4 separate regions of the Homo sapiens genome follow, and all the other regions are linked to region 2. The links are contacts of gene promoters, found by promoter capture Hi-C in human tissues and cell types (Jung and others, 2019). All regions are on one chromosome and are shown on one strand. Each heading gives the region's core, a stretch centred on a gene start or on the middle of the fragment in contact. The rest is flanking DNA. Distances are from core to core; before and after follow the strand shown.

Evidence for each region. Contacts are between HindIII fragments. The study calls those that stand out against the background at their distance.
Region 1: a contact is called between a fragment that was not itself captured here and the fragment with the promoter of ASCC2 in region 2, in 3 of the 25 tissues and cell types used here (liver, mesendoderm cells and thymus).
Region 3: a contact is called between a fragment that was not itself captured here and the fragment with the promoter of ASCC2 in region 2, in 7 of the 25 tissues and cell types used here (H1 embryonic stem cells, IMR-90 fibroblasts, dorsolateral prefrontal cortex and 4 more).
Region 4: a contact is called between a fragment that was not itself captured here and the fragment with the promoter of ASCC2 in region 2, in 2 of the 25 tissues and cell types used here (dorsolateral prefrontal cortex and neural progenitor cells).

Annotation. Positions count from the first base shown.
Region 1 is chr22:29,678,741-29,681,440 of GRCh38, reverse strand. It overlaps NF2 (NF2, moesin-ezrin-radixin like (MERLIN) tumor suppressor), which reads right to left. Exons shown (of 16, transcript NM_000268.4): 15 at 1-2. Among named protein-coding and RNA genes, the nearest start is that of CABP7-DT, 40 kb to the left of the region's middle. The HindIII fragment of the contact is 5,631 bases long and covers 1-2,700 here.
Region 2 is chr22:29,837,024-29,839,888 of GRCh38, reverse strand. It overlaps ASCC2 (activating signal cointegrator 1 complex subunit 2), which reads left to right and starts at 1,615. Exons shown (of 20, transcript NM_032204.5): 1 at 1,615-1,711. RefSeq lists an enhancer at 1,283-1,342. The HindIII fragment of the contact is 14,310 bases long and covers 1-2,865 here.
Region 3 is chr22:30,035,690-30,038,389 of GRCh38, reverse strand. The region is part of intron 3 of HORMAD2-AS1 (HORMAD2 and MTMR3 antisense RNA 1); the gene reads left to right. Among named protein-coding and RNA genes, the nearest start is that of MIR6818, 30 kb to the right of the region's middle. The HindIII fragment of the contact is 4,617 bases long and covers 1-2,700 here.
Region 4 is chr22:29,638,958-29,641,862 of GRCh38, reverse strand. It overlaps NF2 (NF2, moesin-ezrin-radixin like (MERLIN) tumor suppressor), which reads right to left. Exons shown (of 16, transcript NM_000268.4): 3 at 2,651-2,773. Among named protein-coding and RNA genes, the nearest start is that of NF2, 37 kb to the right of the region's middle. The HindIII fragment of the contact is 5,010 bases long and covers 1-2,905 here.

The sequences.
Region 1 (2,700 bases), core at 1-2,500, 160 kb after region 2:
CTCTGCCGGCAAGAGGGTATCATGCATCAGGGCTTGGGCAGACAGTGAGACACGGCTCAGGTGCTCTGCGGCCCACAAGCTGCTTGGTGTGCGATCTAGGGTTTGAGGCCTGGGGTTCACGTCTCTACTTGGCCACTCACAGGCCATGGGAGCTTGGGCTGGTCACTTAAATGCTATGAATGTTTCCTCATCATTAAAATTGGGATAATGATCACAGGGCCGTGGTTAGGATTAAATAAAACAGTGTAGGAGGCCAGGCACGGTGGCTCCACCTGTAATCCCAGTACTTTGGGTGGCTGAGGCAGGAGGATTGCTTGAGCCCAGGAGTTGGAGACCAGCTTGGGAAACATAGCAAGACCCTGTCTCTATTTTTAAAAAAAAAAAAAGAAAAGGAAAGAAAAAGAAAGAGTAGAAAAGCCCTTGGTAAATTCTCATAGGGGGCTCTACAAATACCAGCTCTCATGGACAGCTTTTCGTTCTGTACAAAAAAAAAACATACGTGAAACAAGCTTCCTGGGAACCCAGAACAATCTCCTTGTCTCAACCCTTCTTGGAGCAGTAATTCAAGTAAACTCTTTTTTTTTTTTATAGGATCTTGCTATGCTGCCCAGGCTGGCTTTGAACCCCTGGTCTCAAAGGGCTGGGATTATAGGCATAAGCCACAGCGCCCAGCTTCACGTGATCTCTTTTGATAGGCCACATCCACATTCCCACTTGTTCTGAGACTTCATCTAAAGATGACAGAAGCTCACTCAGAAGCTCACCCAACGCAAGGAAGAAAAGATCCCCACCCTCACCTGAGAACAGATAACACTGAGTGACAGCATCTATGATGGTGAAAATCTGGAAACCACCCACAAAGTGTCCAACTACAAGGCATGGCCAGAAAAACCATGCAATACAAATACCAAAAACACTCCATAGGGATTGCCATGGTTAGTATAGAGACTCTGCCAATATGTGCAAGGGTAAGAAGTGCTATGGTCTGAATGTTCGTGTCTTCAAAATTCATATGTGGAAACCTAATCACCGGCTGGGTGTGGTGGCTCACGCCTGTAATCCCAACACTTTGGGAGGCCAAGGTGGGCGGATCATGAGGTCAGGAGTTCGAGACCAGCCTGACCAACATGGTGAAACCCCATCTCTACTAAAAATACAAAAGTTAGCTGGGCGTGATAGCATGCGCCTGTAATCCCAGCTACTCAGGAGGCTGAGGCAGGAGAATCGCTTGCACCCAGGAGGTGGAGGTTACAGTGAGCCGAGATCGCACCACTGCACTCCAGCCTGGGCGATGGAGTGAGACTCCATCTCAAAAAAAAAAAAAGTGTCAGGAGGTGGGGCCTTTGGGCAGTCATGAGGGTAGAGCCTCATGAATGGGATTAGTGCCCTTATAAAAGAGACTCCAGAGAGACCCCTCATCCCTTCCACTGGGTGAGCATGCAGCAAAAAGGGGCTGATTATGAACCAGCAAGAATGCCCTCACTAGACTCCACCTCTGCCCGTGCCTTGATCTTGGCCTTCTCAGCCTCCCAAACTGTGAGAAATCAATTTCTTTCTTTTCTTTTTTTTTTTTTTGAGACAGGGTGTCTCTCTGTTGCCCAGGCTGGAGTGCAGTGGTGCAATCTGGGCTCACTGCAACCTCTGCCTCCCAGGCTCAAGCAATCCTCCCACCTCAGCCTCCCGAGTAGCTGGGACCACAGGCATGTGCCACCACACCCAGCTAATTTTTGTATTCTTAGTAGAAATGGGGTTTTGCCATGTTGCCCAGGCTGGTCTTGAACTCCTGGCTCAAGAGATCTGCCCCCCTTGGACTCCCAAAGTGCTGGAATTACAGGCATGAGCCACTGTGCCTGGCCAAGAAATAAATTTCTGTTGTTTATAAGCTACCCAGCCTCTGGTATTTTGTTACAGTAGCCAAAACAAACTAAGATAGTAACAAAATACAAACTATAAAATAGCAGACACAGAACAGCTTCACCCTGATCCCGGATCCCAACCACATAAATGTATATGTCTGGATAATGGTGAAAGGAACATGGACAGCAGATATGACAGCTAGAGGCTCTGGTTCATTGGCTACTTAGCTATACCCTCAGTGTGAGAGCCCAAAGAAAAACAGCCTGGGTTCTGGTTGCCCATACTGGACTCCATGGAGACACTTTCCCCAAAGGGTTTTCCTGAGGATACCACCCATGGTAAAAGCACATGGGCTGCAGAGTCAGATGGGTGAGGGGTTTCAACCCCTCTGCATCAGCTGTGGGATGCTGGTGGAGTTCACTAAACTCTCTAAATCTGAGTTCTCACTTATAAAATGGGAACATGAAAACCTACCTTTGATGTCATTTTGATGTTTGTAAGTTAGCAGGAATTAAATGAGACAAAAGCCAAAACCCCTGACACACAGGCACTCAATGCATGGTAGCTACTGTGGTTGTCCTCTAGCAAGCAGCAGCAGTTAACCAACTTACCGCTAGCTCTGGGAACTAGGGGCCCTCGCTTAGATTTCCTCTGCAGTGGGGATCCTTTCCTTTCCATCTCTGATCCACTTCTACCCACAATAAAGGGAAGACGGAGGGCAGCTCAGCAATTGCTGCCATGATCAGGCCATGCTGGGGCCCTGCCCAGTGCCACCCACTGCAGCAAAGTGGCCCCACCAGCTGTCAGCTTTCCTTAGCCTCGAGCCTGAGTCTCTTCTCTCAC
Region 2 (2,865 bases), core at 366-2,865:
TTTGAGTTGAGCCTTTAAATGAGACTCCAGCCCTGGCCGATATCTTGATTGCAGTCTTGTGGGTGACCCTGATGCAGAGGAGCCAGCTATGCCATCCTCAGATTCCTGGCCCACAGAAAATGTGAGATAATAAATATGTTTGTTGGCCAGGTGTGGTGGCTCACGCCTGTAACCCCAGCACTTTGGAAGGCTGAGGCAGGCGGATCACGACGTCAAGAGATCGAGACCATCCTGGCCAACATGGTGAAACTCCGTCTCTACTAAAAATACAAAAATTAGCTGGGCCTGGTGGCTCATGCCTGTAGTCCTGCCTACTTGGGAGGCTGAGGCAGGAGAATCGCTTGAACCCACTGTAACCTCCGGGAGGCAGAGGTTACAGTGAGCCAAGATCACACCACTGCACTCCAGCCTGGTGACAGAGTGAGACTCTGTCTCAAAATAAATAAATAAATAAATGTGTTTGTTATAAGTGGCAAGCAGTGTGTTGTTATAAGTTTGTGGTAATATGTTATGCAGCAATACAAAACTAATATAATATCCAGCCCCTCTCATCTCATTTCTGGTTTACAGCCCATCTCTCCTATTTCCTTAGCACCCTGCATTCATCACACTGACTCATTGCTATTGGTTTTCTTGCACTTCCTATCCTGTAAGCCCCTTGAAGACAGGCACTGAACTAAGCATTCCTTGTAGCCCTAGTGCAGATAGCAGGGGTTGGCAGGAGTGTCCTGGGAAATATTTCACAATCCCAGGGTGGGGTTGTGTTCTCCATTCGGGGGCTTCTATAACACCCCAATAATGATGGTGGTTGGTTTTGAATTCTTACTGTGTACCAGGCACTGAGATGAAGCCAGGAATGTGTGTTCTTAACAAGTTTTCTGTGATGATTCTGATCCATAGTCAGGCTTAGGAACCACTAAACCTACATTACCTGAGACATTCTGTAGAAAAAATTGCATCCTTCTCTTAGGATAGCTATACTTGTAACTTCCTTAAACAAAACAGAACAAAACTGTATTGCATACATACAGAAAAATGCACAAATCTTAAGCGTACAATTTGATGAATTTTCCAAAGTGAACACATCTACATGGCTACCACCGAGATGAAGACAGGGGGTGACCCCAGCCTCACTTGTGGCCCCTCCCAGCCCACAGCCCCAGAGGAAACCACCAATTTTAACACCATCACTACTCATGAGTTCTGTCTGTTCTAGAATTTCCCGTAAATGAAATCGCAGTCTGTACTTGTACATCTGCTTAACATTATGTTCGTGCTTTTGACTTGTTAAAATTTCTCTTCTGGATTAAATATGTAAAACGGTGACTAAGGAGGTCGGGCAGAAGGTGGAAGCCTGGGATTCCGAGACGTCCTCTCAGGTGCCATACTTGGATTTCCCGAGAGGTGTAATCACACAGCCCGCCCTCAGCTGACCTATTCTCTGCTTAAGCAGGAAGGGAGATAGGAGGGGAAGGGGGCGTGGCTACAGACGCCGAGTGTGGGGCGGAGTCTTAAGAAGAGAGGCGCAACCCGGGTCCGGCTTCCCGGCGGTAGTTTGCTCGGCTCTGGGGGCGGGGCCAGGCCGAGACTTCCTGTCTGCTCCTGCGGAATCGCAGTTTGACCCCGGAAGTGCGGGCGCTCAGGGAGCTGTCACCGTGGTCGGCGGCGGCGGCGGCGGCGGCGGCACAGAGCCGGTGGTGGAGCCGCCGAGGTGAGTGCGTGGCTGGTCCCTGCCAGATGCAGGGCAAGGGACCCCGGAGGAGCCGCGGCTATGCCTTGGGCAGCCTTGGCTCTCCCATCCTCTGGCCTCCATTGCGGGGCCCACGCTTACGCTACCTGAGGGGTTGTGAGCCGCCTCTCGAGACTTGGCCGCCAGGGTCAGGAGCCACGGGTTCGAAGTTCGGCCCCAGAGTGGCGTTGGACCAGCCACGATCCCCCCACGTCCTCACACCCGGGGCTTCAGTTTCCTCAGGGTTCATTCATTCGTTCAGCAAATATTTGTGGAGTGCTTCCTATGTGCCAGACACAGATCTAGACATTGGGGATACAAAGAAAGCAAGACAGACAAGGCTTCTGCCCTCATGGAGCTTACAGTCTAGTGGGAGGAGATGGTCAACGACAAGCAAATGCACAAGGTCATTAAAGCTATGACAGTAACTGGGAGAGTGGATACTATAGGCAGAGCCATCAGAAGGTCTCTGAGGAGAGTAGTATTTAATTGAGAGACTAGAGGAATGATGACAAAGAGGCTGAGGGAGCAGTAGCCCCGGGGATGCTCCCAGGCCATATTGCAATTGGGTGCTTGTAGGGAGCTCCCCCTCCCTTTCTTAGCTTTTGGCTTTTGCTGTCCTGCCTGGCAGGGGAATACAGTGGTGGGCACAGACATAGTCATGATTATTGTTTGTCCTTTTGGAGCTCAAAGTTCAGATTGTCCAGTTAATTTATTTTTTCCCCCCAAGACGGGGTCTTGCTCTGTCGCCCAGGCTGGAGTGCAGTGGCGTGATCTCGTCCCACTGCAACCTCCGCCTCCCGGGTTCAAGCGATTCTCCTGCCTCAGCCTCCTGAGTAGCTAGGATTACAGGCATGCACCACCACGCCCTGCTAATTTTTTTTTTTTTTTTCGGTAGAGACGGGGTTTCACCTTGCTAGCCAGGATGGTCTCGATCTCCTGGCCTCGTGATCCGCCCGCCTTGGCCTCCCAAAGCGCTGGGATTACAGGCGTGAGCCATCGCGCCCAGCCCTGCCTACTTAATTTGTACCCGTGCTTTAGACAAAAACTCAGGTCTTCCTTGACATCACTTCTTCCTCAAGCCAGGTCTCTCTTTTAAATGCTGCCACAGCTTCATGAGCCTTATCTACATAGCT
Region 3 (2,700 bases), core at 131-2,630, 200 kb before region 2:
GTTGATGTCACTGCTATCCCCCAAGGGGCAGGCTCCCTGCTCAGATGTACATGTACTCTCTTCTTCCTCTGAGCTATAACTCCAACTAGTCAGTATCCAAGTTCCTGTAGCCACTAGTTGTGGAGAAAGCTAAAGTCATCAGACATGAAGAGTATTCTCTACACAACTCAACCACTTAGAAAAATCACTCTCCACTTAAACATCTCTTCCTCCTTAACATACTCTCCATCCACCATAGCCCAACTTCCCTGTTACGGATTGTGAGATGTTGAAAATACAACAAAACAGGCACCAAAGTACAATTTAAGTTTTGTAAAATATGCAGAATTTCACATAGTTGGTGAATGTGTTGGCAAACTGCTCAGATGAGTGTAGCCATTGGAAATAAGGATCGCAGAGAGTAGGTCCATTAACAAATGAAGGGGAAGGTGACATGTCTAACCAATTAGGTGTTTCCTAGGGGGATGATGTGAATATCAAAGACTAAAGGATTTAAGAGGGAAATTGAGGAAGCCCTTGACTAACTTTTCCTAAAATGATCCTGTGATTGATTACACTAGAAAATCAAACATGAAATAATGTCCTATTGTGCAATCATATAATTTGGGGAGGGAAATACACCTAAAATATTATTTTTAAGAATTAGCCTGGTCGGGAGTGGTGGCTCACGCCTGTAATCCCAGCACTTTGGGAGGTCAAGGCAGGTGGATCACTTAAGGTCAGAAGTTTGAGACCAGCCAAGCCAACATGGCAAAACCCCACCTCTACTAAAACTACAAAAATTAGCTGGGTGTACTGGTGCATGCCTATAATCCCTGCTACTCAGGAAGCTGAGGCACGAGAATCTCTTGAACCCAGGAGGCGGAGGTTGTAGTGAGCCAAGATCGTGCCACTGCACTCCAGCCTGGGCAACAGAGCGAGACTGACCCTCTCTCAATAACGACAACAACAACAAAGAATTAGCCTATAGTTGCAATTACCTTTTGTTAAAACATACTTTTAAACAAAACAGTGGGAGATACTGGTTAAAGGATAAATTTCAGTTAAATAGGATTAGGTTAAAGAGCTCTATTGCACCACAAGGTGACTTAGTTAATAACAATGCATTGTATTCTTGAAAATCTCTAAGAGGGTAGATTTTAAGTGTCTCTCATCACAAAAAAATAAGTATGTGAGGTAACGCATATGTTAATTAGATCGATTTAAACCATTACACAATGTATACATATTTCAAAACATACTGTATATTATATATAATTTTGTCGATTCAAAAAAGATACTTATTTCAATAATAGTTTCATTTTACAAGATTAAATTCGGATCAAACCTTTTTCACTATGTGCTGTATGAAACACTGGTCTCCATTTTCAATGGGTTGCCTCTAAGAGGCTTTTTCAGGTCCTGTTCTTTTTGGATGAGGGTATGAATATATTTATCTGCCTGATCATCTTCCCTAACAGGCAGCATATTCTTGAGAGCAAACAGTGCCTGAGACAGAAGTCCCATGTCATCTCATGGAATGGTAGGGGTGGGGACATGTGTGAGTCACCAGTGAAGCCTGCACAGAGACTTAGCCTTCAATGACTTACTACATGAAGGCGCCACAGAGCATATCCAGAGCTGTCAGAAGCCAAGACTCTCTGTGCATGCATTGGTTAGGGTCCTCAGCAATGAGGGGTGACAGAGTACCGAGGCAGAACAGGGCAGAGGGTTCCTGAACAGACAGCCAGGCCCTTGTTCTCAGCTTGATCTGGGCTTTTCAGGCATCAGCAGGGCCCTCTGAGGGCATGAGGTGCCTTGGAGGGCAGCAGGGTGACCCGGAAGACATGTGACTGGCAAGGGTGTTCTGGTAGGCCCAGGTAAGGAGAGGCAGAGCCCCTCTGCCCTTGCCTAGGGCAGCACACAGAAACCATGCCCAGTGGCTTTGGGTGCTCTAGCTCATTCCTGTCCAACCAGGGTCAAAGCTTCCTACGACGGAGTGTCATAAATAGACTGACGATGGGGCTTCCCCCAGTCCCAGGAAGGGTTGGTGGGGTGTCGGAATTCAATTACAATATGAAAATAAGAGGTGAACTTCCTACTTGGGGTTGAAGGATAGGAGGGCAAACTTGGCATCGGCGTTCACCCCTGCACTAGGTGCTGACTGCATCCTGCAACAGAGGATAAAAGCGAAGAGCAGACGTCGTGGCCTCTCAGTTCAGGGGAAGCCCCGAGGCATCTCTGGCTGACAAGGCTGAGCTCAGTTTTCAGGCCCAGAACTAGTCCCCAGGTTAATGCCATCGAACTGCGTGGGGGTGCAGGTGAAGCATGGCCACATAGACACGTCCAGATGGGGACACCTGATGCTCTCGCAGTCTCCCCAGGTGCCTGAAGGAGGCCTCTAGAGACTTAGAACTGTGGTATATAACAGGCCTCCATTTTCAGCACTTTAATTTCTGCATGTCCAAGGAAGCATGCGTGGAAGGAGGGCAGAGAGCTGAGCCTCAGAGCAGTAATGCCAAGGAAGTAGGTGAGAGGGCTGCCTGCAAAGTCTCACAGGCCAACTACAGAGGCAGAAGAACTGGCAGGAGGGTTAGCAAGGTGGCAGGTTGCAGAATGGTTGCAAGAAAGAATGCTTTGGAGTGGGTCTAGAGTGTGTGGCTAGTCCTTGGGGACACCCAGTGTTGGGGTGGTGGGGGGCAGCAGAAGCAGGAGGAAGAG
Region 4 (2,905 bases), core at 406-2,905, 200 kb after region 2:
AGCCTCAGCCCCTTTGAATATGCATGGCCCCAGAGGAAATGGATCTACTTTTAAGTATTAACACAAGACAAAAGTCACCAAGGCCACTGAGTTATGATTGCAGAAAAAACCATCACTCTCAACGTGCTGCTCTAAGGGAAAAGGAAGCAATAAAATTTGATCGATTCAACTTTTAAGTACACGTGAGGTCCAGGAAATATAATTCTTAAGCCATAATGTTGAATTAACATATTTCATTGCACTTAATTTTCTTAGAATGGTGCAACTTGGGATGTTCCAGACACAGAAGCAAGACAACTGCATGACGTGGCAGGGGGACACTGAAATAAACACAGCAGGAAAGCCAGCTCTCCTCTCACAGATGTCAACAGTCACCGGATTCATAAAAGCAGTAAATTTTGCCTTGCTCAGTCATAAAAATGCCTTAACATTTCAGTATGGGGAAAATCAAGTCAGTCACACAAGAGACAGGCAGTGCTTCCAAGTACTTACAAGAAAGCCATTTCTATAACATTAGGACATTCTGGGACCTAGGAGATTGTTAGGTGTTTACGTTCAAACACAAAAATTCTTCTTAGGTTTTAAAAGTGATTTTACATTCTTAGAGAGAAAATGAAACCTGAGATGTTTCTCAAGCAGTGCAACTTTCTAATCCCTTGGTTTCATTTCCAAAGAGAGGGGGGAAAAAGCAACGCTATAGAAAAACTGCAAGAACATCCCTTTTCTTTTGAGAAGGAGTTTCACTCTGGTTGCCCAGGCTGGAGTGCAATGGCGCAATCTCGGCTCACTGCAACCTCCACCTCCCGGGTTCAAGTGATTCCCCTGCCTCAGTCTCCCAAGTAGCTGGGATTACAGGCATGTGCCACCATGCCCGGCTAATTTTGTATTTTTAGTAGGGACGGGGTTTCTCCATGTTGGTCAGGGTGGTCTCAAACTCCTGACCTCAGGTGATCCACCCGCCTCGGCCTCCCAAATTGCTGGGATTACAGGCATGAGCCACCACGCCCAGCCTAAGAGTGTCCCTTTGATCTGCAAACATCAGAAATAAATTTGTCACCTCTTTTGCGCGTGCACACACACACACACACACACACGCCCCCCAGACCTTTTTTAAAAAGAATTTAGGGGGTTTTATTATATTTAACTTAATATTTGCTGACCACAATATACTGAGGCTGAAATTAATTACAGGAGGGCTATGTGACAGACTACCCAACTATCTCTGGGAAATCATGTAATTAATGCCCCTACTGCCATCTTTTACATTACTGAAACCTTTGAGCACACAAATAGCCCCAGTGCCAATCACTGCAACTGGCCATGAAACTGGGGAGCCACTCTGACCTGCAGTAAGAACATAAGTGAAACTGATAAGGTTTTCATCCTCAGACCAGTTCCCCTCCCTGTGCCTCTGGATGGTCAACCTGTAATTGTGAATTTCTTAATTTCTTCAATTCGGTGGGACAATTACTTATGGAATGCCTACTGTGTACTTAATGAGGCTTGCCTTTAAGGGGCTTACAATCTAATGAGGAATTAAGGAAGAAATAGGACAATTAGAGACACAGCATAGCATGAAGCACGATGTCTGAAGTACCACATATGGGGGACAAACCAAGTGTCACTAGAGCTCTGAAGTCCTCTTTTTTTTTTTTTTTTTTTTTTTTTAAGACAGAGTCTCACTCTGTCACCCAGGCTAGAGTGAAGTGACTCAATTTTGGCTCACTGCAACCTCCGCCTCCTGGGTTCAAGTGATTCTCCTGCCTCAGCCTCCTGAGTAGCTGGGATTACAGGCATGCATCACCATGCCTGGCTAATTTTTGTATTTTTAGTAGACATGGAGTTTCACCATGTTGGTCAGGCTGGTCTTGAACTCCTGACCTCGTGATCTGCCCGCCTCAGCCTCCCAAAGTGCTGGGATTACAGGGGTGAGCCAACCCGCCCGGCTGAAGTCCTTTTTTTTTTTTTTTTTTTTTTTTTTGAGACGGAACCTCACTCTGTTGCCCAAGCTGGAGTGCAGTGGCGCGATCTTGGCTCACTGCAACCTCCATCTTCCAGGTTCAAGTGATTCTCCTGCCTCAGCCTCCCGAGTAGCTGGGACTACAGGCACCTGCCACCACACCCGGCTAATTTTTGTATATTTAGTAGAGACGGGGTTTCACCATGTTAGCCAGATGGTCTCGATCTCCTGACCTTGTGATCTGCCCGCCTCGGCCTCCTAAAGTGCTGGGATTACAGGCCTGAGCCACCATGCCCGGCCAGTCCTCTCTTAATGAGAGCAGATTTTAAACTTTTGGAAGAACTACTGCTTTATAAGACTCTCTCTTTAGCCTTCCTTTGAAACTATTGAGTACTTTTAAGTTAGCTAGAAGAAAATAGGACCCATTTTCAAGGAGGTTTTAAGTTAGGTAGCTACTTGTATCCATTCTTCACCATCACACCTTCACAATTTCATCTGACACCAATTTTCATCACTCAAGTATAGTTCTGTTCTGAAGCCTTTTTTCCATTACAGAACCAAAGGGGCTGACCTTCCAGAGGTAGAATATTTTTGCAATACAAAGGTGTTTGTGGTCAACTCTGAGGCCAACTCTGCAACCACTCCTGGGCAAGTTCTCTCAGAACTGGGGGGTAGCCTTGACTGATGTACCTGTAAGAAGAATAAATGTTGTGTGATCTCCTGAACCAGCTCCTCTTCAGCATTCTCAGGATAAAATTTGGCCAAGAAGTGAAAGGTGACTGGTTCTTCCTTTGAAACATCATGATCCAGTACCTGCAGAATTGCAGAGCAAAAGACAAACACACTATATTGGCACTTCCTCCTGTGCTACCCTCAAAGAAGCCTTTGCAAGGCGTGCATTAAATTTTTTTCCCACTAAATTTATCACATTTCCTGAAAGTTGTG